Linked DNA regions of Homo sapiens: regions 1, 2, 3, 4 and 6 are each linked to region 5. Evidence: promoter capture Hi-C in 16 types of primary human blood cells and fetal thymus (Javierre and others, 2016). All regions are on one chromosome and are shown on one strand. The core of a region is centred on a gene start or on the middle of the fragment in contact, and the rest is flanking DNA. Distances in the headings are between cores, read along the strand shown.

Region 1 (4,475 bases), core at 433-2,932, 260 kb after region 5:
GACTGACTCAAAAACTTGAGTATGTGTGGATTTTGGTATACATAGAAATGGAGGAGCTGGAACCAATCCCCCCATATACCAAGGGACAAATTGTGTCTGTTTCTACAGTTATACTGTAGGATACATTATGTTCCATGACAATGGTAATTTTTAATGACAGTTTTTAATTGAGTGGAATTACCATAAAAATAATAAAAGTAGCAGCTAATATTTACTGAGCTGTTACTAGGTGCCTATAAATATGATAGATTTTTGAAATTCCCCATAACTCTTCCTTATTCCACTTAACCACTCTATCTTAAATTACTCATGCTTGCTTCGGTAGCACATATACTAAAGTTGGAACAATAGAGAGATTGGCATGGCCTCTTTGCAAGAATGTCATGCAAATTTGTGAAGCATTCCATATATTTTTTAAAAAGAGAAAAAAATTACTCCCAGATTTTCACTGGGTACATATGACCTTTTGTTTGAATTATATCCAAAGATGATATTTCCAGAAGTGAGATTACTGTGAGTCACAGGGCATGAGCATTCTTATTACACCTGATGTAAATTGTCGAGCTTTCAGGCATGGTGGCTGTCTGCCTTTAATTCCAGCACTTTGGGACGCTGAGGTGGGAGGGAGGATTGCTTGAAGCCAGGAGTTAGAGGAGGCAGTATAGGGAATCACTGTCTGTATTATTTTAAAAAGACTGCCAAGCTTTACTCTCAAAGGCTTATATACAATTTAAACACCACTAATAGTGTAAAAAAATTGCCCATTTCAGGCCAGGCGCAGTGGCTCATGCCTGTAATCCCAGCACTTTGGGAGGCTGAGGTGGGTGGATCACGAGATAGAAATCGAGACCACCCTGGCCAACATGGTGAAACCCCGTCTCTACTAAAAATACAAAAATTGGCTGGGCGTGCTGGTCTGTGCCTGTAATTTTAGCTACTCGAGAGGCTGAGGCAGGAGCATCGCTTGAACACAGGAGTTGGAAGTTGCAGTGAGCACGCCACTGCACTCCAGCCTGGCAATAGAGTGAGACTCTGTCTCAAAAAAAAAAAAAAAAAAAAAAAAAGAAAATGCACATTTCATTGCACCTTTGCCGGCACAGGGTATTATAATTTAACAAGTTATTTTTTGTTTGACTATTTTTAATAAATAAAATACCTAGTATTACTTTATTTTTATTTGTCATATTTTAATATCTTTCCTTGTGTTAGCTTATCAGCTTTATTTCTTCATTGTCCTTTTTTAATTTTTGAGACCAAGTCTCACCCTGTCGCCGAGGCTTGAGTGTAGTGATACAGTCTTGACTCACTGCAGCCTTGACCTCCTGGGCTCAGGTGATCCTTCCACCTCGGTTGCTGAGACTATAGGCACATGGAACCATACCTGACTAATTTTTTTTATTTTTAGTAGAGACGAGGTCTTGCTATGTTTCCCAGGGTATTCTGGAATTCCTGGCCTCAAGCGATCCTCCCACCACCCCCTCCCAAAGTACTGGTATTATAAGTGTGAGCCACCATGCCTGGGCTGTCTGTGTCTTTTCCCTTTATTTATAGAGTTAATGAGTCTTTTACTAATTTGATTATCTATTTTTTATGAAATTATAAAAATAGTAAATACTTTTAAATAAAGAAGTGAAAATTTTCCTTCACTCTTTAGACCCACAATTTTATCTCAGGAAATAATTGCTATTGCAAAAATGGGCCATATTCTTCAAGATACATATAGGCTAATTGGACATCACTTCACATTTTCATATTTCGTGGACATCTATGCCAATACCTATTGATCTATCTTACTCCTTTTCATGGTTGCATAATATTTTATTATATAGATGTATCACAGTTTACCAGTCAGCCACTGTAGGCGTTTAGGCTCCTTCTAATGTTTGCTTTGAACTCTTTATATAATTAAAAATTAACACCCTCAGCCAGATGTGGCAGCTCACACCTGTAATCCCAGCACTTTGGAAGACTGAGGTGGGAGAACTGCTTGAGGGTAGGAGATCATCACCAGCCTGGTCAACAGAGTGACACTTTGTTTCTATTAAAATTTTTTAAAAAATGAGCTGGACATTGCAGTGCACACCTGTAGTCCCAGCTACATGGGACGCTGAGACTGGAGGATCACTTGAGCCTAGGAGGTTGAGGCTGCAGTAAGCTATGATCACACCACTGCACTCCAGCTTTGGTAACAGAGTAAGACTGTGTTTCTTAAATAAAATAAAAATCAGGTGGGAAGATTGCTCTAGCCCCGGAGGTAGAGGCTTCCATGAGCTGTGATTATATCACTGCAGTCCTGCCCACGCAATAGAGCAAGACCCTTTCTCAAAGAATAAAATAAAATAAAAATTAACCCTTTATCATATTTCCCACTAACACCTTCCATCCTACGTTTTTCCTAGAAGCCCTTGAATTTTGTTTGCTTTTCACATACCATTTAAAACTTTTAAGTACTGATGTCTGTTTCATCCCTCCTTTTTTTTTTAAAGGATGTCTTTTTGTCACTTCCAGCTGGATCTACCATGAAAGACGTCAGAGTCCAGGAAGAGAGACTGACTGGGCAACATGTTATTCAGGTACAAAAAGACTTGGACTGTAACTAAAAAATGATCAAATAATAGTGCATACATCAAGAACAATGGAAAGCACTTCTGGAGGGTGAGAGAAGCTTCCAGTTAAGTTGACATTGAAGCTGGGTCCTGAAAGATGAGGAAGAGTTGTATGAGAGTGAGGAGGGAAGGAGGAGGTGGAGGGATGGGGAATGGGCTGGGATGGGATGGAGTGGGCTGTCCAGGTGGGGAAACCAGCACTGTAAAGACCTGGACAATGAAGATGGCACATTTTGTTCAGGGAATGGTGAAGTAAGAGTGGCAGGAGTGCTTTGGAGAGACAGTAATTTGCTTGTATGGAATTTTGCCCAAGAGACCTCATTACAGTTTCTAATCTTTTGATGTTATCATCCATCACTGTCCTTGTCAAATAGTTTGGAATAGGTATGATGATCACAATAACATCAAGCATAATATTTCATTAATTCTCAGAATTAGAGAAGATGATGTGGTGATGGAAGAAGAGGTCAGAGAGGGAGATTTGAAGATGTTGCAGTTCTGGCCTTCAAGATGGAGTCAGGGGCTATCTTCAAGGTGAGTCAAGGAATGGGGTGGCTTCTAGAAGCTGGAAAAGACAAGGGAGCACATTCTCTCTAGAGCCTCCAGAAGGAATGCAGCCCCTCTTACACCTTGACTTTAGCCTTAATAGGCCTAGTTTGGGCCTCTGGTTCCCAGAACTATAATATGGCAGATTTTTGGTGTTTTAAGGCACTAAATATAGGGTAGTTTGTTGCAGCAGCAAGAAGAAACGAACATGAGCCAGGGGCAGTTGCTCACACCTGTAATCCCAGCACTTCAGGTAGCTGAGATGGGGAGCATCGCTTGAGCCCAGGAATTTAAGACAAGCCTGGGCAACATAGTGAGACTTCTTATTGAAAAAAATTTTTGTTAAATTAGGCAGATGTTGTGGTATGCACTTGTAGTCTCAGCTCCTAGGGAGGCTGAGGTGGGAGGATTGTTTAAGTCTGGGAGGTTGAGGTTGTTGTGAGCTGTGATTGAGCCACTATACTCCAGCCTGGGCAATAAAGCAAGACCCTCTTTCAAGAAAGAAAGAGAAAAGAGAGAAAGAAAAAAAGAGGGAGGGAAGGAGGGAAGAGAGGGAGGAGGAAGGAAAGGAAGGAAGGAAGAAAGGAAGGACGCATGACAGATGGAAATGTTAAATAGAGTGGTGAGGGTTGGCCTCACAAGTGAAAATTGAGCAAAAGCTTGAAGCAGGTGATGGAGCTGGCCAAGGTGCTGAGGGAAGAGCGTTGTAGGCTGAATCAACAGGATAAAGGCATTAGGAGACTCCCTGGTGAGTCTGAGGCTCTGGAAGGAGGCCAGTGGAGCAGAGAGAGAGAGGGAGAGAAGTAAGGGAGCAGGCCAGGGAGTTGCTAGGCGGTGATCAGTATAGATCGTGTAAGCCCTGGGAGGCTATTGCTGAGGCTTTGACTTCTATTCTGACTGAAATGGGAACTGCAGGAGGGTTCTGAGTAGAGAGGCGACATGATCTGTCTCCTGATTTAAAAGCACCCCCTGGCTGCTGAGTTGAGAAAGACTGTGGGAAGATTTGGGTAGAAGCATGGGGGCCAAGCTGTGTCAGCATCCAGGTGGGAGATGGTAGTGGTCCTGACCAGGGTCATGGCTGTGGTGAGAGATGGTCAGAACCTGGATAGATGTTGAAGTCAGCCAATAGGATTTCCTGACAGACTGGGTGTGGGCTGTGAGATAAGGCAGGGGTCAAGGTTGAGCTTGATTCTAATGGAATTATTAAGTAATTTTAAAAAACACTGCTGCCTTTCCCAATCCTACCAAGTAAAGGATGCTAGATGAAAGAAATCTCAAGTCGGGCCAGGTGCAGTGGCTCACACCTGTAGTTCTAACAGTTTG
Region 2 (4,455 bases), core at 437-2,936, 420 kb before region 5:
GCTAAATTTTTGTATTTTTAGTAGAGACGGGGTTTCACCGTGTTAACCAGGATGGTCTCGATCTCCTGACCTTGTGATCCGCCCACCTCGGCCTCTCAAACTGCTGGGATTACAGGCGTGAGCCACTGCACCCGGCCACACACAAAAACTTCTACACAAATGTTCATAGCAGCATCATGTATAATAGCCAAAAAAGTAGAAACAGATGTCCATCAATGGATTAATGGATAAATAAAAGATGATGTCCAGCCAGGCACGGTGGCCCATGCCTGTAATCCCAGCACTTTGGGAGGCCAAGGCAGGCAGATCACTTGAGGCCAGGAGTTCAAGATCAGCCTGGGCAACTTGATGAAACCCCGTCTCTACTAAAAATATAAAAATTAGCCAGGCATGGTGGCACATGCATGTAATTCTAGCTACTTTGGAGGCGGAGGCATGAGAATCACTTGAGCCCAGGAGGTGGAGGTTGCAGTGAGCCAAGATCACATAACTCCACTCCAGCCTGGGAGACAGAGTGAGACTCTTCAAAAAAAAAAAAGGTGATGTCTGTATAATGGACTATTATTCGGCCGTAACAAGGAATGAAGTGCCGATACATGCTACAACATGGATGAACTTTGAAAATATTATACTGTGTGCAAAGGAAGGTAGTTACCTTCCCGGGTTCAAGCAATTCTCCTGCCACAGCCTCCCCAGTAGCTGGGACGACAGGCGTCCGCCACCATGCCCGGCTAATTTTTGTATTTTTAGCAGGGACGGGGTTTCACTATGTTGGCCAGGCTGGTCTCGAACTCCTGACCTCAGGTGATTCACCAGCTTTGGCTTCCCAAAGTGCTGTGATTAGAGGCATGAGCCACCCCACCTGGCCTAGCAGAGAGCAATTTTGAATACAGCTGTTAGATTCTGCACTCATGCCTTCTCTAATCCATGTCACTGGAGTAGAAATAATTGCTTTGACAGAACCTGGTGTAGATGTGTCTGTAGGAAGAAACTGTAAAATGAATGGATCATTTTGTGAAATATCTGCCCTTTCCCCACCTTTCTTTTGCTTCTTTGCCTTTTTCTCCCTAGTTTTCATTTCTTTCTTTTAGGGCGTCAGCCCCCCACCTCTGTGGTTGGGAGGGACTATTGCACGTCTACACTCTCGTGGGGATGAAATAGTGTTTGAGTTCGTTATTTGCATTTGCGCGTTATCTCCCCGAGGAGATGACAGCTTCTCTGCCAGCAGCGGGCAAAGGTGGGCTCTGAAGCAGAGGAGAGGAATTATCAGGAAAAGCTCATTTTCTTCTCCTGTCCTAGGGTTTCACTGATGAAGGCCTCTGGGACACCCACGTTGGGGGTGGGGGCGGTGAGGACCGCCACCTGCCCGCGGCTCCCCTGCAGCCAGGCCACGCGCGCTGTTGCTAGGGCAACCACCCGGCCAGGCCTGCGGCTGCCGGGAAGCCCCCTCGGGAGCGCGCACGGGAAGGGCTGTGGGGGCGCTGGCCGGCTGCGACGTCAGACCCCCGCCCCTCGGCGCCTGCCGGACCCAGCTCCATTCCCAGCCGCGCCTCCTTCGGTGGGCAGCCGGCCGGAACTCACGAATCAGAGCAGCCGACACATCGTCCGCTCAGCCAATCGTAGCAGATGTGTGATCCCGCCACCTCCCCGGACCCTGGCGGTTGTCGCTGAGTTGGCGACCGCGGGAGACGCTGCTGAGGCGGCTTCGGTTGCGGGTCGGAACGGCGCTGCTCTGCGGGGCCGGTCCAGGCTGGCAGCTGCCGGCGCTTGGCGGTGAGGGCGGGCTCCCGAGTGGCCCCCCACCGAAGGCGGTGGGACCAGCGGCTGAGGCCAGGATGCCGTCCAGGCGGCGCGGCGGCTCCTCACTCATCCCAGGTAAGGGGGACGCGGCGCTCGCTGCGGCTCCGCTCCCCTCTCGTCTCCTCACACCCGGCCCTGTGCCCCGTCCTGGCATCCCTTGGCCCCTTGTCGCCTTCTGCTCGGTGCCTCCCGGTTGTCCAACCCCGCCCCCGAGCGCGGAGCCCCGGGTCTGGCCCGTCCGGCCCCTGCTCCCACGCCCCTTCCCCCATCGCCGGCATTTCCCGGGCTCGGCTTCGCCCCGGCCGCCGGGGCCTCTCCCCTCTGCCCTTTCTCTCCCTTCTCGCAGCCCTGGGACCACGTCCTAGCCCCGCAGTCCCCTGGGATGAGACCCTCGTCTCGCCGGGATCGGACATTTGCCCCCACGTCTACCCCGGCTGCGCTTCTTGAGCTCATCGCCCCATCATCCTACCCGTTGTACGTAGTCCTGTCTGCATGGCAGTCGCCCGCCCCGCTCCAGGTGTCCCTGGGTCTTGCCCTTTTGCTCCTAAGCACCTTCCTTTCCCAACTCGCCTCTTCTCCCCTCACTTTGACCACCCACCATCGCAATCTCCTCTTCCTTCTCTTACTCTTAAACCTCCAGACACTTTCCCACTCTCTGCAATGCCGGATTCATCGCTTTTTTTTTTTTTTTTTTTGAGAGATGGAGTCTCTATGTTGCCCAGGCTGGCTTCGAACTCCTGACCTCAAGCTATCCTTCTGCCTCGGCCTCCAAAGTGCTGGGATTACAGGCGTGAGCCACTGCGCCTGGCTCAGATCCATAGTGTAATATCTTCATTCGTCCTTACATGAGCTGCACCCCATAACATGTAAAGTCCCTTGCCCAGAGTCTAGCACACAGTAGGCCTGGCACATGGTGGGTGGTCACGCATGTTAGCCTCTTCCTCCTTCCAGGCGTTTTGTACTTTCCAGATGATGGTAGCAAGAAGTCCAGTGTCCACAGGGATTTGACTCTGCCTGAAGAATGGTATGGGAGATGGCAGGAGAAATTGGTGAACTCCAGTAAAGCGATTAAATGGTCAATTACTGCATTCATTAAGAAGAAACAATTCTGCTATCCGTGCCATGTATTGTTTTATGTTAATTGCCTTTGTAAAGGATTCTTAGGCTGCTAGTCAGCAGGCTTTGCGGTGTAATTACTCCCCATCCCCTCTCCATCCCCATCTGCAGTGTTTGGGTAACTTTCTTTTTAGGAAAGAAAGAGCCCCTACCTCCCAGCTAAAGTGGCATAGTATATAAGCAATGTGGTACGTGTTTATCTATTAGCTGGATAGTCCAGGGAGCTGCAATGAATTTTCATCTTTTAAGATCCAGGAGGAATCAGGATTTGGATTTCCTGGAATCAGCTGCTGTACAGACCAAATATGCTTAAGAATGAAACTTCTGACAAGTCCTCTAAGAGTGAGAGAGGAATTATCCACCCCTCTCCCTCCCCCTCTCCAAACACTCGCTCTTGGAGGAAATAGCGAGTCGATTTTTAAAAAAGAGTAAAATACGTTTGACTTTTTAAAATGATAAAAGCATTGTCATTGGCCCTGTACTATTCTTGCCACCTTTGCTCTGATGGTCTCAAGCCTGGACGAATCAGTCAGCTTTTTCTGCTCCTGGGCTCCCAAGGCAGACTGGCAAAAATCATATAACTAAACTGCTGGGTGCTGTTTCTGCACTTCTGGATCCTGGAGATCCTTTGACTTAACCTCTAGATTCCTCTTATGTCCTAAAATCTAAATGGCTGTTTATGGATCTTTACCATTTTTCTCTGACTCTTTGTCCTACTCTTGCCTTCTCTTCATTGCTTATTTTGCCACTTAACTTCACAGAATAAATTGGTGGGCATCAGCCCTGAACTCTTAAGGAGAGGTCATTTTTGTCTGTGCCTGTCTGTACCTGATTTCTAATATCCTTTCCTCTGATCTCAGAAGAAGAGGGGTCTTACTTTCGAAAGCTAACGTCTTTGATCTCTTCCCATATTATTATTTTTTCTGTTGGATGGTATACATCCTCAGGTTTCCACCATTCAGACCAAAACAAAGCTTTTCTTGATGCTTCCCTTTTCTTTTTTTATTCTTCTCAGATTAACGTGGCATTCCTTAGGGTTTCATTTTTGTTCTTTTCTCTAATTTCCTTGTGTGATTACACTTCCTTTCATGGCTTCAAATAGCACCTATATATTTATGGTTTTCAAAGACGTCTATTTAGTCCCCGTTTCTCTTGAACCTCAGGTTCTAATTTTCATCTGCCTACTGCATAGCTGTATGTGGATGCTTGATTACTTCAAATGTGGTTACCTTTTCCTTCCCTTTCTCTCCACCCATAGCCCCCTTTAAGCACATATACAAACATTACTATTTTAAGATCTTTACTCTAGAAACCTTAAAATCATCTTCTTTTCTCCTCACATTAAGTCTAGCATAGATCCTATTGTTGTTGCTACCTCAGATCTTTTTTTTTCCTCTCTTCATAACATCTTTTTTTTTTCTCTCTCTTCATTGCCAGAAGACTGGTTCAGACCTTGGTTATGCTTTTTCTGAACCTCTGGGTCCTGTAGTCTACTTAATCCTCCACGTTGCTGCTGGAATTGGTTCCATTTCTGAACTA
Region 3 (4,715 bases), core at 1,232-3,731, 500 kb before region 5:
AAGAAAGAAAGAAAAAGAAAAAAGAAATGACTGAATTTATTTGGATTTTCCACTTTAAAATAAGACATGGCAACATCTGGTGGACCTTGGAATAGTGTAAGCTTGACACGTTATACATAGTACTTCAGGAAAGCTGGGAAGACTCTATTTTAGAGGGGGCAACCTTCTCTAAATCTCAACGATTCCAAATCATCATTTGGGATGTAGTCATAGGATAGAAGCATCTATTTTAAGGCTGTTTCTGTCTGCAGAATTTCCCATTAAAATTTTTATGATTTTTCCTAATTATCACCTTTGATATATTTATATATTTATAATGCTTTTATACATTGCAAATAGTCTTATGGGTATTAACATCCTTATTTTGAAAGTGAGTTTAAGCCGAGCACAGTGGCTCATGCCCATAATCCCAGCACTTTGGAAGGCCAAGGCCAGCGGATCACGAGGTCAGGAGATTGAGACCATCCTGGCCAACATGGTGAAACCCCATCCCTACTTAAAAAATAAAAAAAGAGAGTGAGTTTAGTTGACTCACCTTTCTGAATAGTAGAAATTAAGAAATGTAGAATTTTTTGGGCTTAGGGTGGGATTGCTGGAGAAAGGAAAAGAAGGAAAAAGGTTGGTAAGAGAGGAGATATTCCAGCATTTTTGCCTCCTATTTGGCACTAGCAAAACCATCTGATAGGCTCACTCCAGGTGTAGAAAGAACCATTTATACCTTGACTGTGAATTTTCCATGTGCTAGAGTCTAAACTCAGAAAGACTCAGGAGGTCTAGAAGGTAGTAGGTTAAGTGCAGTGTCTCACGCCTGTAATCTCAGCACTTGGGAAGGCCAAGGAGAGAAGATTGCTTGAGGCTATGAGTTAGAGCTCAGCCTGGGAAACCTAGCAAGACCCCCAGCTCTTAAAAAAATAAATTAGCGGCCGGGCGCGGTGTCTCACGCCTGTAATCCCAGTACTTTGGGAGGCCGAGGCGGGCGGATCACGAGGTCAGGAGATCAAGAACATCCTGGCTAACACGGTGAAACCCCGTCTCTACTAAAAATACAAAAAATTAGCCGGGCAAGGTGGCGGGCGCCTGTAATCCCAGCTGCTCGGGAGGCTCAGGCAGGAGAATGGCGTGAACCCGGGGGGTGGAGCCTGCAGTGAGCCAAGATTGTGCCACTGCACTCCAGCCTGGGCGACAGCGAGACTCCGTCTCAAAAAAAATAAAAATAAATAAATTAGCTGGACATGGTAGCAAACACCTACTATGGTCCTAGCTACTTGGAAGGCAGAGGGGAGGTTCGCTTGAGCCCAGGAGTTTGAGGTTACAGTGATGACCACTGTACTCCAGTCTGGGAGACAGCTTTTGAGACCGTGTCCCCAAAAAAAAGCTCCCAGAGTGTAAGACAGCAAAAAGAAAGAAAGAAACCTACCCCCTTGTGGTGCTCCCCTCCCCCGCCCCACAAAAAAGAAGGTAGTAGAATAAACAGAGTTGGCCATATTCTTTCCTCTCTAAAGGCTCAGTCTTAAGTGGTTGCAGCTTAGAACAGGAAGGAAATGGTTGAATGGTTTTTGGCCAAGCCTTTGGCTTTTAGGAGCCTCCTTGTCCAGTTTGGACTTTGCTAGGTGTTTGGGTGTTTTATCCATTGGGGAAACATTGCATTCATTGATCTCATGCCACTATTTCTGAAAGGACCAGCAGATGAGAGGGGTCGTATTGTATCTGGTGATGGTGTGTGAGCCTGCATTTTCTTCACTTCTGTGGTAGAATCTCTAAAACAGGAATGAGACTAAGATTCCCCCCTGCCCCCAGCACTAATACATGTATGTTTTATCCTTGTGGGAAAGTTTGCTTCTAAAGATCCATAGCATTTTTTCCTTTCTTTTTTGGGGGGTAAACTCTGTCTTATCACTTGCCTCAAAATTTTTCTTTTCCAGAAAGAAATTATTATATTAGATTTTTATACTAGAGAAGCAGGATTCTTTTTTTTTTTTTTTTTTTTTTTTTTCAGATGGAGTCTCGCTCTGTCACCCAGGCTGGAGTACAGTGGCACCATCCAGGCTCACTGCAACCTCTGCCTCCCGGATTCAAGTGATTCTCCTGCCTCAGCCTCCCGAGTAGCTGGGACTACAGGTGCCGCCACCATGTCCAGCTAATTTTTTGTATTTTTAGTAGAGATGGGGTTTCACCGTGTTAGCCAGGATGGTCTTGATCTCCTGACCTCATGAACCGCCCACCTCACCCTCCCTAAGTGCTGGGATTACAGGCGTGAGCCATCATGCCTGGACCCAGAATTCTTTTTTAACAAAATATTTGCTTTAAGAAAATCTGCTTTCAAATAGTATATTTTTGAGATCAGATTAGTGATGTACATATTGATAGGAAATATTTGAAATATTTTAAGTAAATTAATGAATTTGAATTATTTGGCTTATATAAAAGAACATTTTTTAAAAATGTAATATGCCTCTGGGACTCATATTTGCTCAAATCCAAGAGTTGGAAGCTGGGTGATGGGCGGGTGAAAGGAAGTACTATACTTTCCTGTTTATCCTTCAAAACCACTGACCTTGGATAGATATATTTCTCAAATTTATTCATAAACGTCTTTTTTGTATCTCCTCCTAGGTATTTCAGTTACTAACTGATCTGAAAGAGCAGCGTAAAGAAAGTGGAAAGAATAAACACAGCTCTGGGCAACAGAACTTGAACACTATCACCTATGAAGTAAGGCTGGGCTTCTGCCAGGCCTACCTAAAGTACCATTGAGGGAGGGGGGTTTATTCTCCCAATGACTGGCAGCTGAAATTAAGATTGCTTTTTATATGATCTGAATGTTTTATTCTAACCTGATTTTTGTTTGTTTGTTTGTTTTTTGACACAGAGTCTCGCTCTGTCGCCCAGGCTGGAATGCAGTGGTGTGATCTTCGCTCACTGCAAGCTCCACCTCCCAGGTTCATGCCATTCTTCTGCCTCAGCCTCCCGAGTAGCTGGGACTGCAGGCGCCCTCCACCACGGCCAGCTGATTTTTTGTATTTTTAGTAGAGACAGGGTTTCACCATGTTAGCCAGGATGGTCTCGATCTCCTGACCTCGTGATCCGTCCGCCTAGACTTCCCAAAGTGCTGGGATTACAGGCATGAGCCACCGCGCCCAGCCTACTCTAACCTAATTTTTATTCTGTTTATAGAAGTGAGAGGAGTTTGGTCAAGTTTAGAGTTTAGCCAGCTACAAAGTTAGAAGGAATAGTGTAAAAGATTGCCCTCATTTCTCCTTGAAAGGGGATCACAGCTCACTGCAGCCTCAACCTCCTAGGCTCAGGTGATGCTCCCAGCTTAGCTTCCCAAGTAGCTGGGACTATGGGCATCCACTGCCACGCCTGGCTATTTTTTGTTGTTGTTGTCCAGGCTGGTCTCCAACTCCTGGGCTTAAGGGATCTTCCCACTGCAGCGTCCCAAAGTGCTGGGAACTTACACGCTTAAGGCTATTATTTTTCAAGTTTGAGATTCCTTCCAAAATATGTAATTATAATTCCTCCGAAATTTTATCTATATTCTTCCTCAAAAGCCACAAAATCTGTGTAATCATGAGAAAGCATCACATCATTGCAAATCAAAGAAAAAAAAGAAAAATCTTTTTATTTTGAAATCATTTTTCTTTTTTTTTTTTTGAGACGGATTCTCGCTCCTGTTGCCTAGGCTGGAGTGCCATGGCGCAACCTCGGCTCACCTCTGGCTCCCGGGTTCAAGCGATTCTCCTGCCTCAGCCTCCCGAGTAGCTGGGATTACAGGCATGCACCACCTTGCCCGGCTAATTTTGTATTTTTAGTAGAGACAGGGTTTCTCCATGTTGGTCAGGCGGGTATCAAACTCCCGACCTCATGTGATCCGCCCACCTCTGGCTCCCAAAGTGCTGGGATTACAGGCGTGAGCCACCGTGCCCAGCCATTTTTCTCTTACATAAAAGTTGTAGAGACAGTGCTGGGAGTTCTCATGTACCCTTCCCATAGTTTTCTCTGATGTTAATATCTTACATAACCATGGTACAGTGATCAAAACCAAGAAATTAACATTGGTACATACTATTAAGCTAAACTTAAATTTTATTTGAATGCCCTGTTTTCCCATTGCTGTCTTCTGGGTTCCAGGATTCAGTTCAGGATACCATTTTGTATTTAGTTAACATGTCCCCATAATGTCATTCAATCTATATCCTTACTCTTCCTTTGTCTTCCATGACCTTGACACTTCCAAAGTCTCGTCAAGTATTTTGTAGAATGTCTGTTGATTTGTGATTGCCTGATGTTTTATTATGATTACACAAAACCTATGGCTTTTGAGGAAGAGTACCACAGAGGTAATCTCCCCTTCTCGTGTCCTGATTTCTGGGGGTACATGATATTGATGTTTCTTATGGGTGATGTTGTTAACTTTGGTCATTTCGTTAAGATGGTATCTGCCTGGTTTCTCCACTGTAAATCTACTGTTTCTTCATTTCCACATTATGTTAGAAAGGATTTGGCTGGGCGTGGTGGCTCACACTTGTAATCCCAGCACTTTGGGAGGCCGAGGCAGGCGGATCACAAGGTCAGGAGATCGAGACCACGGTGAAACCCCATCTCTACTAAAAAGAAAAAATACAAAAAATTAGCCGGGCGTAGTGGCGGGCGCCTGTAGTCCCAGCTACTCAGAGAGGCTGAGGCAGGAGAATGGCGTGAACCTGGGAGGTGGA
Region 4 (4,856 bases), core at 202-2,701, 380 kb after region 5:
AAGTCACGTCATCCCTCTGCTTAAAACCCTGCACTGACCCCTTCATTCAAGAGTCAATGCTTGAGTCCTCACAGTGGCCCAGAGATCCTACACGTGTGGCTCTTTGTTAACTCTCTTACCCCATCTCCTTGGTTTCTTTTTTTTCAGTCTTAGTAACCTCCTCTGGGCCTTTGCAGTTCACTGTTCCTGCCGCCTGGGATAACCTCATGGTTCTCCCAGTTCCTTTGGCTTTGGCTCAAATCTCACTTTATCCTTGTGTTAGTCTGTTTTGCATTGCCATAAAGGAATACCTGCAGCTGGGTAATTGATATGGTTTGGATCTGTGTCCCCACCAAATCTTACGTCGGATCGTAGTCCCATTGTTGGAGGTGGGGCTTGGCGGGAGGTGCTTAGATCTTGAGGGCAGATTTTGCATGAGAGGTTTAGCACCATCTCCCTTGTACTGTCCTCGTGACAGTGAGTTCTCATGAGATCTGGCTGTTTAAAAGTGTGTGGCACTGCCTCCTTCTCTCTCTTGTTCCTGCCATGTCATGTGCCTGCCCCTCCTTTGCCTTCCACCAATATTGGAAGCTCCCTGAGGCCTCCTCAGAAGCAGATGCCGTTACACTTCCTGTACAGTCTGCAGAACTGTGAGCCAATTAAATGTCTTTTTTTTATAAATTGCCCAATCTCAGGTATTTCTTTTTTCCTTTTTTTTTTTTTTTTTTTGAGATGGAGTCTCACCCAGTTGCCCAGGCTGGAGTGCAGTGGCGTGATCTCGGCTCACTGCGGCCTCTGCCTCCCAGGCTCAAGCGATCCTTCCACCTCAGCCTCCCAAGTAGCTGGACCACAGGTATATGCCACCATGCCCAGCTAATTTTTTGTATTTTTGGTAGAGATGGGGTTTCACCATGTTGCCCAGGCTGGTCTCGATCTCCTGACCTCAAGTGATCCGCCCGCCTTGACCTCCCAAAGAGCTGGGATTACAGGCATGAGCCACCATGCCCGGCCAGGTATTTTTTTTATAGCAATGCAAGAATGGACTAATACTGTAATTTATAAAGAAAAGAGGTTTATTTGGTTCATGGTTCTGCAGGCTCTACAAGCATGGTGCCAACATCCACTTGGCTTCTGGTGAAGCTTCAGGAAGCTTCCACCCATGGAGGAATAGGTACCACATGGTGAGAGAGGGAGCAAAACAGTAGGGAGAGATGTGAGGCTTTTTTTTTTTTTTTTTTTTTTTTTTTTTAACAGCCATCTATGAACTAATAGGGCAAGAACTCAACACCAAGGGGAGGGCGGCAAGCTGAGGTAGGAAAGTAGAGTCTGGAGACAGAGCCTAAGGCCAACCTGTGGCTGACGTCCTTGAATTAAACTGAAAGGAAAGCTTTAGCCTCTGATGGGCTGTGGGCTAATTCTTTATTTGCATATGGTATAACTCCACTGCAGCCTCTGATTGGCCATGAGCCAATTCTTCATTTATATAGGGTGTAACCAATTGGAAGCCTCCCAAGGATACCTGGGGGTGTTACCAAATTCTTCTAGCTTAATAAAAACCTAAGCTTAATAAAAACAACTGGAGCTCTTGAGCCACTTGCTCAAGCCTGCTTCCTGACTGTAGAGTGTACCTTCCCATCAATAAATCTGTGTTTTTGTTGCTTCGCTTGTTGCATTTTTTTCAGTTCTTTGTTGAACATGTGAACAACCTGGACAACTCCTAGGCAAGACCCTCCACTGGTAACAAAGCCACTCCTGAGGGACCCACCCCCATGACCCAAACACCTCCTATTCGAGCTCACTTCCAACATTGGAGATTACGTGTTAATGATATTTGGAGGGGACGAATATCCAAACCGTATCAGTCCTTGAGGCCTGCTGCAGTACTGTTTTCTGACCCCCAAATACCTTTTCTCTTTTTTTTTGAGATGGAGTCTCGCTCTGTCGTCCAGGCTGGAGTGCAGTGTGGCACGATCTCGGCTCACTGCAACCTCTGCCTCCTGGATTCAAGCAGTTCTCCTCCCTCAGCCTCCCAAGTAGCTGGGATTACAGGTGCCCACCACCACTCCTGGCTAATTTTTGTATTTTTAGTAGAGATGGGGTTTCACCATGTTGGTCTGGCTGGTCTTGAACTCCTGACCTCAGGTGATCTGTCCGCCTCGGCTTCCCAAAGTGTTGGGATTACAGGTGTGAGCCACCACGCCTGGCCAACCTGTCCTTTTTCTATACCAGTTCTCATGCTTACTATTGGGAGTTATCATTAGCCCACAAGACTGCCCCCACTTCAGACACCAGTCACAAGTCCCGGCTTTAAATTTAGGGTTCTGCACCACTGCCTCCTCAGGTTCTATAGGATGACTCACAGACCTCAGGAAGTTGCTTGACTTATGTTTAGTGGTTTATCATAAAGGATGCAACTCAGGAACGGCCGAATGGAAGAGCTGCACAGGGCCAGCTATGGAGGGGTGGGGGTTGAGCAGGGCTTCCAGGCCGTTTCTGGCCGTGTCTTCTCCCCAGCACATTGGTATGTTCACCAAGTCAACAGTCTCCATTGTTCAGGGGTTTTTCTTGGAGGCTCCATTACATAGGCACGATTGATTAAATCATTGGCCTTGGTGATTAAACTCAATCTCCAGCCCCTCTTCTCTCCCTAGTGTTCCCTGTTGGGGCTGGGGTAGGAGGTGCTGAGTTTAACTTCTCATCAGTTTCTCTGGCAACGAGCCTCCATCCTGAAGCTATCTGAGGCCTCACTCCAGTAAGCCATCTCATTAGCGTACAAAAGATATTCATTCCATCTTTTGTTGTAGTGGCTGCTCCCAGCCTAGAGCTTCTCTGGGGTTCTGTTAGCCCTGTGAACTCTTCCCTAGGACTTTTTCCTGTCTGTCAACCGGCTTCTTTTCATGTTTCCCATTCTTTTCACTCTTCACTCTTTCTTTTATTTTATTTATTTATTTATTTTGGAGATGGAGTTTTGTTGCCCAGACTGGAGTGCAATGGTGCAATCTTGGCTCACTGCAACCTCCGCCTCCTGGATTCAAGTGATTCTCCTGCCTCAGCCTCCCGGGTAGCTGGGATTATAGGTGTGTGCCACCACGCTTGGCTAATTTTGTATTTTTAGTAGAGACGGGGTTTTACCATGTTGGTCAGGCTGGTCTCGCATTCCTGACCTCAAGTGATCCAACTGCATCGGCCTCCCAAGGTACTGGGATTACAGGTGTGAGCCACTGTGCCCAGCCCATTCTTCACTATTTCTTTTTGCACTTCTCTGTGTTTATTGTTTTTTAATATGTTATTTTCTTTATGAGACAGGATCTGAGTCTGTGGCCCAGGCTAGAGTGCATTGGTGTGATCGTAGCTCACTGTATCCTCTAACCCCTGGGCTCGGGGGATCTTCCCGTCTCAGCCTCTTGAGTAGCTGGGACTATAGGTGTGTGCCATCACACCTGGCTAATTTTTAAATTTTTTTATAACGATGAGGTCTCACTTTGTTGTCCAGGCTTGGCCTCAAGTGATCCTCCCACCTCAGCCTCCCAAAGTGCTGGGATTATAGGCATAAGCCATCTTGCCTGGCTGATATGTTTACTCTAGTAGGGCAAGGCAGATTGATCATCCAAAGCCAAATTAGATTCAGTCCTATGTAAACCCTGATCGGGTGAGAACAACACAAATGAATGATCTCTGTAATGGTGCCCAAGAAAATGGTAAGAGTGAGGATAGAATTTGTGTTCATGAAGATACATATCAGTCACTGAAAATATTTTTCATGAGGAATGCCACATTCTTGTGCCAACAGGGGTAATGAGGGTTATATTTGGCTCATTGAAGACTTTATTTGATGTTTTTTTTGGTCCTATTAGGGATTCGCAACAGTTCTTGCTGAAGCAGTTACATCCCTGGATCTGCCTGTGGCCATTATTAATCTAAAAGAATATGATCCAGATGATCATCTGATAGAAGAGGTTGGTAATTGTCTTTTTCTTCAGTCAAAACTCTCAAATTTAACTGATCTGCAATCTTCACAGTAAATTTAATTAGATAACTAGAATCTTCAGAATAAATTTAATTTTCGTGCTAAGGGATTTCAGTTAGTTGAATTCCAGTGTGAATCAGAGAATTGAATGTGGGGTAAGGTTCACTGATTCTCACGTGGTGTGGGGCTTGTTCTTCAGGCATGTTAAATTCTCCTGGGGCAGGGCTAGAGGTGAGAAAGCTTGGGTGGTTGGAAGTTCACTCCTTCCCACAATTTTCTTTTTTCTTTTCTTTTTTTTTTTTTTTGAGATGGAGTCTCACTATGTCACCCAGGCTGGAGTGCAGTGGTGCAATCTCAGTTCAGTGCAATGTCCGTCTCCAGGTTCAAGTGATTCTCCTGCCTCAGCCTCCCAAGTAGCTGGGATTTACAGGCATGCACCACCATGCCCAGCTAATTTTTTTTGTGTGTGTCTGTGTTTTTTGCTAGAGATGAGGTTTCACCATGTTGGCCAGGCTGGTCTGAAACTCCTGGCCTCAAGTGATCTGCCCGCCTTGGCCTCCCAAAGTGCTGGGATTACAGGCATGGGCCACTGTGCCTGGCCCCTACTATTTTTATTTTTTTAAAATTTATTTTATAGAGACAGGCTCTCACTCTCTCACCCAGGCTCTGGAGTACAGTGGTGCAATTTCAACCTCCCGGGCTCAAGTGATCCTCCTTCCTCAGCCTCCTAAAGTAGCTGAGACTACAGGCATGTGCTGCCATGCCCTGCTAATTTTAAAAGATTTTTTTTTTTTTTTTGACATGGAGTCTCGCTCTGTCACCCAGGCTGGAGTGTAGTGGCGCGATCTCAGCTCACTGCAAGCTCCGCCTCCCGGGTTCACGCCATTCTCCTGCCTCAGCCTCCCGAGTA
Region 5 (4,531 bases), core at 912-3,411:
ATTCAAGTCCTCTCTTCTAGATTTTTGTTATTGTTGTTGTTGAAACAGAGTCTCTGTCACCTAGGCACTGGAATGCAGTGGTGCAATCACAGCTCACTGCAGCTTCGACCTCCCTGGCTCGCATGATCCTCCTTGCTTTACCCTCCTAGTAGCTGGGACTACAGATGTGAGCCACCACACTCAGCTATATATATATTTTATTTTTTGTAGAGGCAGGGTCTAACTACGTTGTCCAGGCTGGTCTTGACCTCCTGGGCTCAAGGTATCCTCCCGCCTTGGCTTCCCAAAGTGTCTTCCAGCTATTTTGAAATATACAATCCATTGTTGTTAATTATAGTCACTACTCTGCTTTTGAACCATAGAACATAAACCTTTTTATCTAACTGTATGTCCTTCATTAACCTAAATCTCTTCATTTCTCACCCAACCGTTCCCAGCCTCTGGTTTCTTTCTACTCTCTAAATTTATGAGATCGATTTGTTTTAGCTGCCACAGATAAGAACATGCAATATTTATGTCTTTCTGTGCCTGGCTTATTTCACTTAACATAATGACGTCCATCCACGTTGCTGCAGATGACGTGATTTCATTCCTTTTCATCTGTGTTTAAACAAGGTCTCCCTCCAGGGATTTTGATGCAACTGAAGTTGGAGAAAACACAGACCTAGGACACTCCTGCAGCTGGGAGTGCGATGGTCTAACAGAGGAAGTGCTATGCCACCAGCTCATCTTTGCCATCCTGGAGCTGTCTAATCTACGACTCAGTTTTCTTTTCTGTCACTACACTGTGAGAATGAGATGAGGAACTGGGTGTGAAAACGGTTTGAAAAGGAGAAGCATGGTTGCACACGCCTGCGATCCCAGCACTTTGGGAGGCTGACGAGGGAGGACAGCTTGAGGCAAGGAGTTTGAGACCAGCCTGGGCAACATGACAAGACCCCATTTCTTAAAAAAAAAAAAAAAAAAAAATTTTTTTTTCTTTTTTGAGACGGAGTTTCGCTCTTGTTGCCCAGGTTGGAGTATAGTGGCCGTGATCTCGCCTCACTGCAATCTCCATCTCCTGGGTTCAAGCGATTCTCCTGCCTCAGCCTCCCTAGTAGCTGGGATTGCAGGTGTGCCACCATGCCTGGCTAATTTTGTATTTTTAGTAGAGATGAGGTTTCACCATGTTGGCCAGGCTGGTCTCAACTTCCTGACCTCAGGTGATCCACCCGCATCGCTTACCAAAGAGCCAGGATTACAGGCGTGAGCCACTGCGCCCGGCCAAAATTTTAAAAAATCAGCTGAGTGTGGTGGTGCGCGTCTGTGGTCCCAGCTACTCGGGAGGCTGGGGCGGGAGGATTGCTTGAGCCCAGGGGTTGCAATGAGCTATGATTGCGCCACTGCACTTCAGCCTGGGTAACAGAGTGAGACTTTGTCTTTTAAAGAAAGGAGAAAATGGCTTGAACGGGCTAAGAACCTTGACCCCCAGGAGACTCCCTGCGCTGATAGAGCCTCTAGGGCTGGACTCCGCCTCCCAGGGAGCCGGGAGCATCTTGGGGAAGGGCCTGTCTCCATCTGTGTGTCCCGGTGGAAAAACGGTCACGGTGGGGAGTCACTGTCATTATTCATTGAACTCAAGCGCTCCTATTTTGGGTTTTCTCGTTCGGATTTCTGCGCGAGCGAGTGAGGAAGAACTGGACACCCGGGCGGTGCCCTGCGGCTCGGGGCGGGGCCAGCCGCGGTGGCGTGTCCGCAGCCACCTCAGCCCTCCTCCCGCCACATCCTCCAGGAAAGGCTGCTCAGGCCTTCCATTGAGGAGACAAGGACCCGCTGCTCTGGGGCCAGACACACGAGTAAGTCGTGACCCCCTGTGTGAAGGGATAAGGCGTCTACCCTGACGCGGGTGAGAACCCTCTTCACGGCAGACTCCGACGCCCAGTTATGAGAGCGTAGCGGCGCACCACCGCCGGGTCTCTCGGAGAGGGCGCGCCCGCTGGCCAGAGGACCAATCAGTGCACGGCAGGCTCGCAGGCCGCCCCCCCCCCCCCCCCCCAACCCAGGGACCACTCAGGCGCCGGCCGCTGGCGCTGCCTGCTCTTCGACTGGGCGAGCTTCCTGCCAATCAGGGCGGAACCAGCGCGGCGTCGGCCAGTAGCGGGAGGCGGTCGGGTCAGGCCCCAGCTGGGCGCGAGCGGGTCGGCGTTGAGGGAGCCACCGCCCTCCCGCCTGCGCACTGCCTCTCGCCCCCCTCCGGCCAGCCCGCAGCCGGCCGCGTCATGCCAGGCGCTGCTCGGCGGTAGGGAGTGCCCGGGGCCGCCGCCTCCGCCCGCCCGAAGCCGCGCCCACTGCCCAGAGCCAGAGGGATGGTGGTAGTCACGGGGCGGGAGCCAGACAGCCGTCGTCAGGACGGTGCCATGTCCAGCTCTGACGCCGAAGACGACTTTCTGGAGCCGGCCACGCCGACGGCCACGCAGGCGGGGCACGCGCTGCCCCTGCTGCCACAGGAGGTACCCGGGCGGGCGGCGGGCCGCGGGGCGTGGGGAGGGGCGCGGGGGAGAAGCGGGCGCGGGGCATAGCGGTCCTCGGCGGGTGGGCGGGGCCGGGGTTGGGGGCGGGGCCCGCGGACTTGCGCCCCTCCCCCGCCCACCTGCAACTCCCCCGCCCACCTGCACCCCTACCCACCCACCTTCAACCCCTGTCAATTACACCCACTAGGTGTGCTTCCCCACCCCCTACACCCTCCGCCCAGTAGTCACTGGGGTGATTTACTCCCATCGCCATGTCCCACTTTTACCGAAGACAGGAGGGAGGGTGGGCCGTGGGAGGGGGACCCTGGAGCCCCGAGAGCTGATGGTGTGTCTGACCAGGCACCGTAGCTCGAGCCTGTAATCCCAACACATTGGGAGGGAGGATCGCTTGAGGGCAGGAGTTGGAGGCCAGCCTGGGCAACATAGCGAGGCCCCGTCCCTACTACGACTGGAAAAACAAAGGCATTTTGGGTTGGATGAATAAAAAAAAGAAAAGAAAAAGATGTCTTCTAGAGAATCCAACAGGATGCTGTAGTGGTTGCCCACACCTAGTCTCCAGCTACCTAAGGAACAAGGCAAGGAGCTGTCTGCACATAAGGGGCAGGCCAGTTCATAGATGTAGGCACGGTCACCTGGCATCCCATGGCTTTCACTCACAGGCTGCTGTGCTCTGGTGCACAGGGGCTTCCACGGGTCTTACTTAATGTGTGTGATACTATCATGTCAACACCTGAAATGACACTCAAGAGACGGGAGAAGATACCAGGCATGGTGGCTCACATCTGTAATCTCAGCAGTTTGGGATGCTGAGGTGGGAGGATTGCTTGATCCCAGCAGTTAGAGACTAGTCAGGGCAACAGTGAGACCCTGCCTCTACAAAAATGAAAATTAGCCAGGCTTGGTGGTGTGTGCCTGTAGTCCCAGGTGCTCAGGAAGGTGAGTTGGGAGGATTGCTTGAGCCCTGGAGGTTGAGGCTGCAGTGAGCTGTAATTGTGCCACTGTACTCCAGCCTGGGTGTGATAGAGTAAGACCGTACCTACAAACAAACAAAAACAAAAAAAGCAAGAGAAGGGAAACGATGCCAGGTGTGGTGGCTTACACTTGTAATCCCAGCACTTTGGGAGGTCAAGGCAGGAGGATGGTTTGAGGCCAGGAGTCTGGGACCAGCTTGGGCAACACAGACTCCATCTCTACAAATAAAAAATAAAGAGGAGGGAAGGTGAAGCATTACTGGACACCGAAGATGGCTTCTAGGAGGCAGGGACTAAGGTAGTGCCAGATCCAGGAGCATGTGGTATGCGGAGTCCCAGGACAATGGAGGCCCTCAACAATTGAGGCCCTCAACAGGCTGGGCTAGGTGATGCTCTTGGGAAGCAGATAGTGTTGTGCTGGGATTGCAAGCCCCATACACACAATGCCATGGGAAAATGAGCAAAAATCTAGAAGTAATCTCTGCAATTGGAAAAAAGTCATTAGTCACAGTGGTGCTATTTTTTTGTGCACTGTCATTGGGAAAATGATATGGTTTGAGGGAAAGAGCACAAGACCACAGATTGCAGACCAGGGCCCCACCACCAGTTCCCCCCACTGATGACATTGCCCCATGTGAGCTCCAAAACTGTTTCCGATGGCTTTTGTCCTCTCTGCTTCAATCCTCTCATCTCTAATATGGAGCAAGCACTTGGATTGGTATGAAGTATCTTTAGAAAAGGTTTAAAGAGCTCCAGAAATGTTAAGTATTATTATTCCAAAATGATATCTGAGCCCTTGATATACACATAAAATGGTTTTAGAGGACCTACAGAATAAGCGCAAGGCATTTTCATGTCCTGTGGGTGCAGAAGAGTAACAGTGCATACACACACGGAAGTGTAACTACCTGTCTATTTCTTTCATTCATTCGGTGAATTTTGGGTCTTTATTTGAGCCAGGCGCTGCACAAGGCCCTGGGTCAGCTTTATTTAATGTATTTGTACCCTATTTTATTTCACAAAGGATTTGAAAGCTGGGAAAGGTACTGT
Region 6 (4,414 bases), core at 55-2,554, 320 kb after region 5:
GTGGAGCTCAGATGACTGCGCCCTCCACGGTCACTGTGAGCAGGTGGTATTCACAGCCTGCATGACCCTCACGGCCAGCCCTGGGGTGTTCCCCGTCACTGTGTAAGTGTACCCGGCACCTGATGAACGTGCGTAACAAGCTCCACTTGCCGTGAGTACGGCTGGGCTGCTTCAGCTGTAAATTCTCAGGATGGCTCACTTCACATTTCTTTATAGAATTATCTCTACTCGGACCTATCTAAAGGATTATTTAATTTGTCTAAAGGATTATTTAATTTGGAATTCTAAAGATAGAACTTCTGCATATAAAATCAGAAAGTTAGTGCCCCCTCGAGGCAGTAAAAGCACCTGGCTGTTGTTGGACATTCATAGGCTGTCTTTCCCGCAGGAGTAGAAGCAGCAAGTTACAGAAAAGAGGCTCACTGTGGCCGGGTGCCGTGGCTCAGGCCTGCGATCCCAGCACTGTGGAAGGCTGAGGTGGGAGGATCACTTGAGCCCCGGAGTTCAAGACCAGCCTGGACAACATATAGGGAGACCCTGTCTCTATTTAAAAAAAAAAAAAAAGAAAGAAAAAGAAAAAAGAAAAGAGGCTCTCTAAAGATAAAGGTTTTCAGCCAGGTGCGGTGTCTCATGCCTATAATCCCAGCACTTTGGGAGGCCAAGGTGGGCAGATCACCTGAGGTCAGGAGTTCAAGACCAGCCTGGCCAACATAGTGAAACCCCATCTCTACTAAAAATATAAAAATTAGCCAGGCATGATGGCACATGTCTGTAATCCCAGCTACTCAGAGGCTAAAGCAGGGAGGCAGAGGTTGCAGTGAGCTGAGATCGCGCCACTGCACTTCAGCCTGGGCAACAGCAAGACTCTGTCTCAAAAAAATAAATAAATCAAATAAAACAAAGATAAAGGTTTTGTTCATCTCCATTATCCAGAAAGATATTTTAAAATCGTTGATTTTAGTTTATCTTGATTTTAGTTTTAAATCAAGTATAAATCAAAACTTATTTTCTGTTAATTAACTAATTTTAAAATCTAACATTTTAAATCATTTCCCATTAAACAGTTACTTTAATTTTACCTGCGAATTTGAAAATTAGTTTTAAAATCAAATATAAATTGAACTTTATTTTCCATTAAACAATTAAGGTTTTTGAAGCTTTTCCTTCAGTGTTTTTGAGCAGCATTCAGTGTTACTGCTTTGCATTTTAGGTTTTTTTTGTTGTTGGTTTTTTTTGGTCTCTCCTGTCTCTATAAAGGAGATAATTATCTATAAATAAATAGGTGAAATACATAAGATATAGCCTATTTAAAATAATTCTATGGTGAATCCTTTTTAAATAAGAATTATCTCAGGATTTGTCTATTTTAGACATTTGGAGGTTTGTAGGACAAGATCAGATTAAGTTAAACATTACTTTGTGTTGCAGTGACTGATATAGAATTTTGTAGGTAAAGCTTCCAGTTGTAACTAAGTGATATGCTTTGGGCTGGGCGCAATGGCTCACACCTGTAATCCCAGCTACTTGAGAGGCTGAGGCAGGAGAATCAGTTCAACATGGGAGGTGGAGGTTTCAGTGAGCCGAGGTCACACCGGCCTGGGCAACAGAGCAAGACTCCGTCTCAAAAAAAAAAAAAAAGATGATATAGTTTGGCTGTCTCCCCACCCAAATCTCGTTTTGAATTGTAGTTCCCATAATCCTCATGTGTCATGGGAGGGACCCAGTGGGAGGTAATTGAATCCTGGAGATTGTTACCCCCATGCTGCTGTTCTCATAGTAAGAGAGTTCCCATGAGATATGATGGTTTTATAAGGGGTTTTCCACCTTTTATTTGGCACTTCTCTTTGCTGCCGCCATGTGAAGAAGGATGTGTTTGCTTCCACTTCCGCCATGCTTGTAAGTTTCCTGAGGCTTCCCTGACCATGCTGAACTGTGAGTCAATTAAGCCTGTTTCCTTTATAAATAACCCAGTCCCGGGTATGTCTTTATCAGCAGCATGAGAAAGGACTAATATACTAAGAGTTTAGCTCATTTGAGAAGATAGGCTTAAAAGGAGCTTATGTGCTTTGCATCACATGTGAGAGGACTGTAGGCTGAATTCTGAAGGCAAAAATCCAACACCCAAACTCCTAAATGTCAGGCACCTATTTATTTTTCTGTTATATTTTTATTTTTTAAAAAAGACCCTCAAACTAAAATATAATGGTATTTATCTCAAAGAAGCATGAACGTGTAAGTTACATTTTTCCTTTCCATGTGTGTTGCCGTGTTCAGTGTTTTACCAGCTGCTGTGGGGGTGACACAAGTGAATGACTCAGGCCACTGAGCACGTGTCTTTCCTCCTCCTCTTCTCCTGCAGACAGCCACCGCACTGTGTTCCTGACACGTACAGCAACGCCACGCTCTGGTACAAGATCTTCACAACTGCCAGAGATGCCAACACAAAATACGCCCAAGATTACAATCCTTTCTGGTGTTATAAGGGGGCCATTGGAAAAGTCTATCATGCTTTAAATCCCAAGCTTACAGTGATTGTTCCAGATGTAAGTGAGAAAAATTGTGTGTGTGTGTGTGCGTGCATGCATATGCACATGTGTGCGCATGTGCTGCAACCGTTGGTGTAGGCCCTGCTGACTTCCCTGGGTAAGCGTATCCTCTGCCACTTTAGATTTCCAGGTGAGTTAGGACACTAGGCGGAGTGGTGGATGCTTGGAAAAACATGTTACCCATTGGTTAAGAAAAATCTGGTTTTTCTCTTCATTTTCTCTGTTGTTCAGCAGCAGTTATTTCTTGAGCAACTGCCTAATCCCTGGGGGGGGTTACAAGGGATCCTTCTATTAATATTATCTTAGAGGGATGTTCACAGACGTTCATAGAAGACTATCTAGTTAGTGTCCGTGTGAACAAGAAATAGTGCTGCTTAGAGTTCTGAAAGATAGAAGGGAGTAGTAGGAGGAGATGAATCTTCGGCTAGAGAGTGAGGCCTGAATAGGATTTAACTTAACCAAGAGGCAAGGGGAACAAAATACTTACCTATCTCATCTAGTAGCTGTGTGCTGCTAGCTCAGCTTCCTACTTAGACTTGAGCCCACTTACTTTTTTAGAGACAGGATCTTGCTCTGTCGCCCAGATTGGGGTCTAGTGGCGCAATCATAGCTCACTGCAGCTTCAGCCTCCTGGGCTCAAGCTTCCCAAGTGGCTGGGACTACAGGTGCATGTCACCATGCCGGGATAATTTTTAAACTTTTTGTAGAGACGGGGGTCTTGCTGTGTTGCCCAGGCTGGTCTTGAACCCCTGGTCTCAAGCGATCCTCCTGCCTTGGCCTCCAAAGTTTCTGGGATGACAGGTATGAGCCGCTGCACCTGGCCCAAGCCCACTTTTTAACACTGCTTTGATATTTTATAAATATGTTCCTTTCTGGCAGTGTGTGTTAGCTGGATCTCTCTTCTTTTGGCCTGGCCCTTTGCCCTTTTCTTTTTTTCTTTATTTTAATTTTTTTTTATTTTTATTTTTTGAGATTGAGTCTTTCTCTGTCACCCAGGCTGGAGTGCAGTGGCACAATCTCGGTTCGTTGCAACCTCTGCCTCCTGGATTGAAGTGATTCTAAGTAGCTGGGATTACAGGCACCTGCCAACACGCCCAGCTAATTTTTGTATTTTTGGTAGAGATAAGGTTTCGACATGTTGGCCAGGTTGGTGTTGAACTGCTGACTTCAGGTGATCCTCCCACCTCAGCCTCCCAAAGTGCTGGGATTATAGGCATGAGCCACTATGCCCGACCTTTGCCCTTTTCTGGGGCTCATTTGTAGGCCAGGGTCCTGCAGGAGCCAGCTATGGAGGTCAGGCTGGATGGTGGGCTGAGGCCCTTAGTGCCTGGCCAAGGGCAGTCCCTGCCTGTGTTTGGGGCGTGGGTGTTGGTAAAGCAGTGTGTTGAGAAGACTGAGCTGCCCCGCTATGTTATAAATGACCTGGGGGAGCCCAGAGCTGTCCTGAGGCCTGGAGATACTAGAGGGTAAAGGAATGGAACCATGTCTGGGGTCCCTTTAGTAACTTGCAGGGTCTGGGAATTGACTGCATGTGGGAGGTCAAAGGGTAGTGAATCACGGATGATCTCAGCATTTTCATCCAAGGACTTAGGGAAATAGAGAAAAGCAGGAGGAAGGGCGTGACCCCTGGGGAGGGGTGAGGTGCCGAGGCCTTCCTGGTGGGGGCATAGTCAGGAGTTAGGAATGCAGCCTCGGCTGTCAGCCATGCAACCTGAGGGCAGTCTTGTGACGAGGATGTGTCCAGAAAGGAGTGGGGCTTAAAGATGGAGTGTCTGCAGCATTTGCAGGGGAGGAAGCCTGCTGGAGGGGCAGGGTTCAGGCAGTGTGGGGGTGCAGAAGGCAGGGCAGAGGACAGCGCTAGGAAGGCG

Evidence for each region. Contacts are between HindIII fragments. The CHiCAGO score rates a contact against its expected background, and 5 or more counts as called.
Region 1: a contact is called between a fragment that was not itself captured here and the fragment with the promoter of KCTD7 in region 5, in 1 of 17 cell types (total B cells). The highest score is 5.4, in total B cells.
Region 2: the fragment with the promoter of TPST1 here is called in contact with the fragment with the promoter of KCTD7 in region 5 in 1 of 17 cell types (naive B cells); the score reaches 5.6 in naive B cells.
Region 3: a contact is called between a fragment that was not itself captured here and the fragment with the promoter of KCTD7 in region 5, in 1 of 17 cell types (neutrophils). The highest score is 5.9, in neutrophils.
Region 4: a contact is called between a fragment that was not itself captured here and the fragment with the promoter of KCTD7 in region 5, in 10 of 17 cell types (fetal thymus, naive B cells, total B cells and 7 more). The highest score is 12.7, in fetal thymus.
Region 6: a fragment that was not itself captured here is called in contact with the fragment with the promoter of KCTD7 in region 5 in 2 of 17 cell types (total B cells and erythroblasts); the score reaches 6.8 in total B cells.

Annotation. Positions count from the first base shown.
Region 1 is chr7:66,890,879-66,895,353 of GRCh38, forward strand. It overlaps the pseudogene RNU6-1254P. Among named protein-coding and RNA genes, the nearest start is that of LINC02604, 11 kb to the right of the region's middle. The HindIII fragment of the contact is 1,962 bases long and covers 702-2,663 here.
Region 2 is chr7:66,203,648-66,208,102 of GRCh38, forward strand. TPST1 (tyrosylprotein sulfotransferase 1) reads left to right here and starts at 1,687. Exons shown (of 6, transcript NM_003596.4): 1 at 1,687-1,875. RefSeq lists silencers at 1,310-1,579, 1,730-2,089. The HindIII fragment of the contact is 8,515 bases long and covers 1-3,888 here.
Region 3 is chr7:66,128,131-66,132,845 of GRCh38, forward strand. CRCP (CGRP receptor component) reads left to right here. Exons shown (of 6, transcript NM_014478.5): 3 at 2,614-2,712. Among named protein-coding and RNA genes, the nearest start is that of CRCP, 16 kb to the left of the region's middle. The HindIII fragment of the contact is 4,765 bases long and covers 100-4,715 here.
Region 4 is chr7:67,005,750-67,010,605 of GRCh38, forward strand. TYW1 (tRNA-yW synthesizing protein 1 homolog) reads left to right here. Exons shown (of 16, transcript NM_018264.4): 4 at 3,834-3,935. Among named protein-coding and RNA genes, the nearest start is that of TYW1, 11 kb to the left of the region's middle. The HindIII fragment of the contact is 175 bases long and covers 1,365-1,539 here.
Region 5 is chr7:66,626,720-66,631,250 of GRCh38, forward strand. It overlaps KCTD7 (potassium channel tetramerization domain containing 7), which reads left to right and starts at 2,162. Exons shown (of 4, transcript NM_153033.5): 1 at 2,162-2,489. The coding sequence starts at 2,346. RefSeq lists silencers at 743-942, 1,953-2,522. The HindIII fragment of the contact is 8,113 bases long and covers 1-4,531 here.
Region 6 is chr7:66,948,593-66,953,006 of GRCh38, forward strand. TMEM248 (transmembrane protein 248) reads left to right here. Exons shown (of 7, transcript NM_017994.5): 4 at 1-102; 5 at 2,360-2,543. Among named protein-coding and RNA genes, the nearest start is that of TMEM248, 30 kb to the left of the region's middle. RefSeq lists enhancers at 1,810-3,009, 4,030-4,324 and a silencer at 4,030-4,324. The HindIII fragment of the contact is 299 bases long and covers 1,156-1,454 here.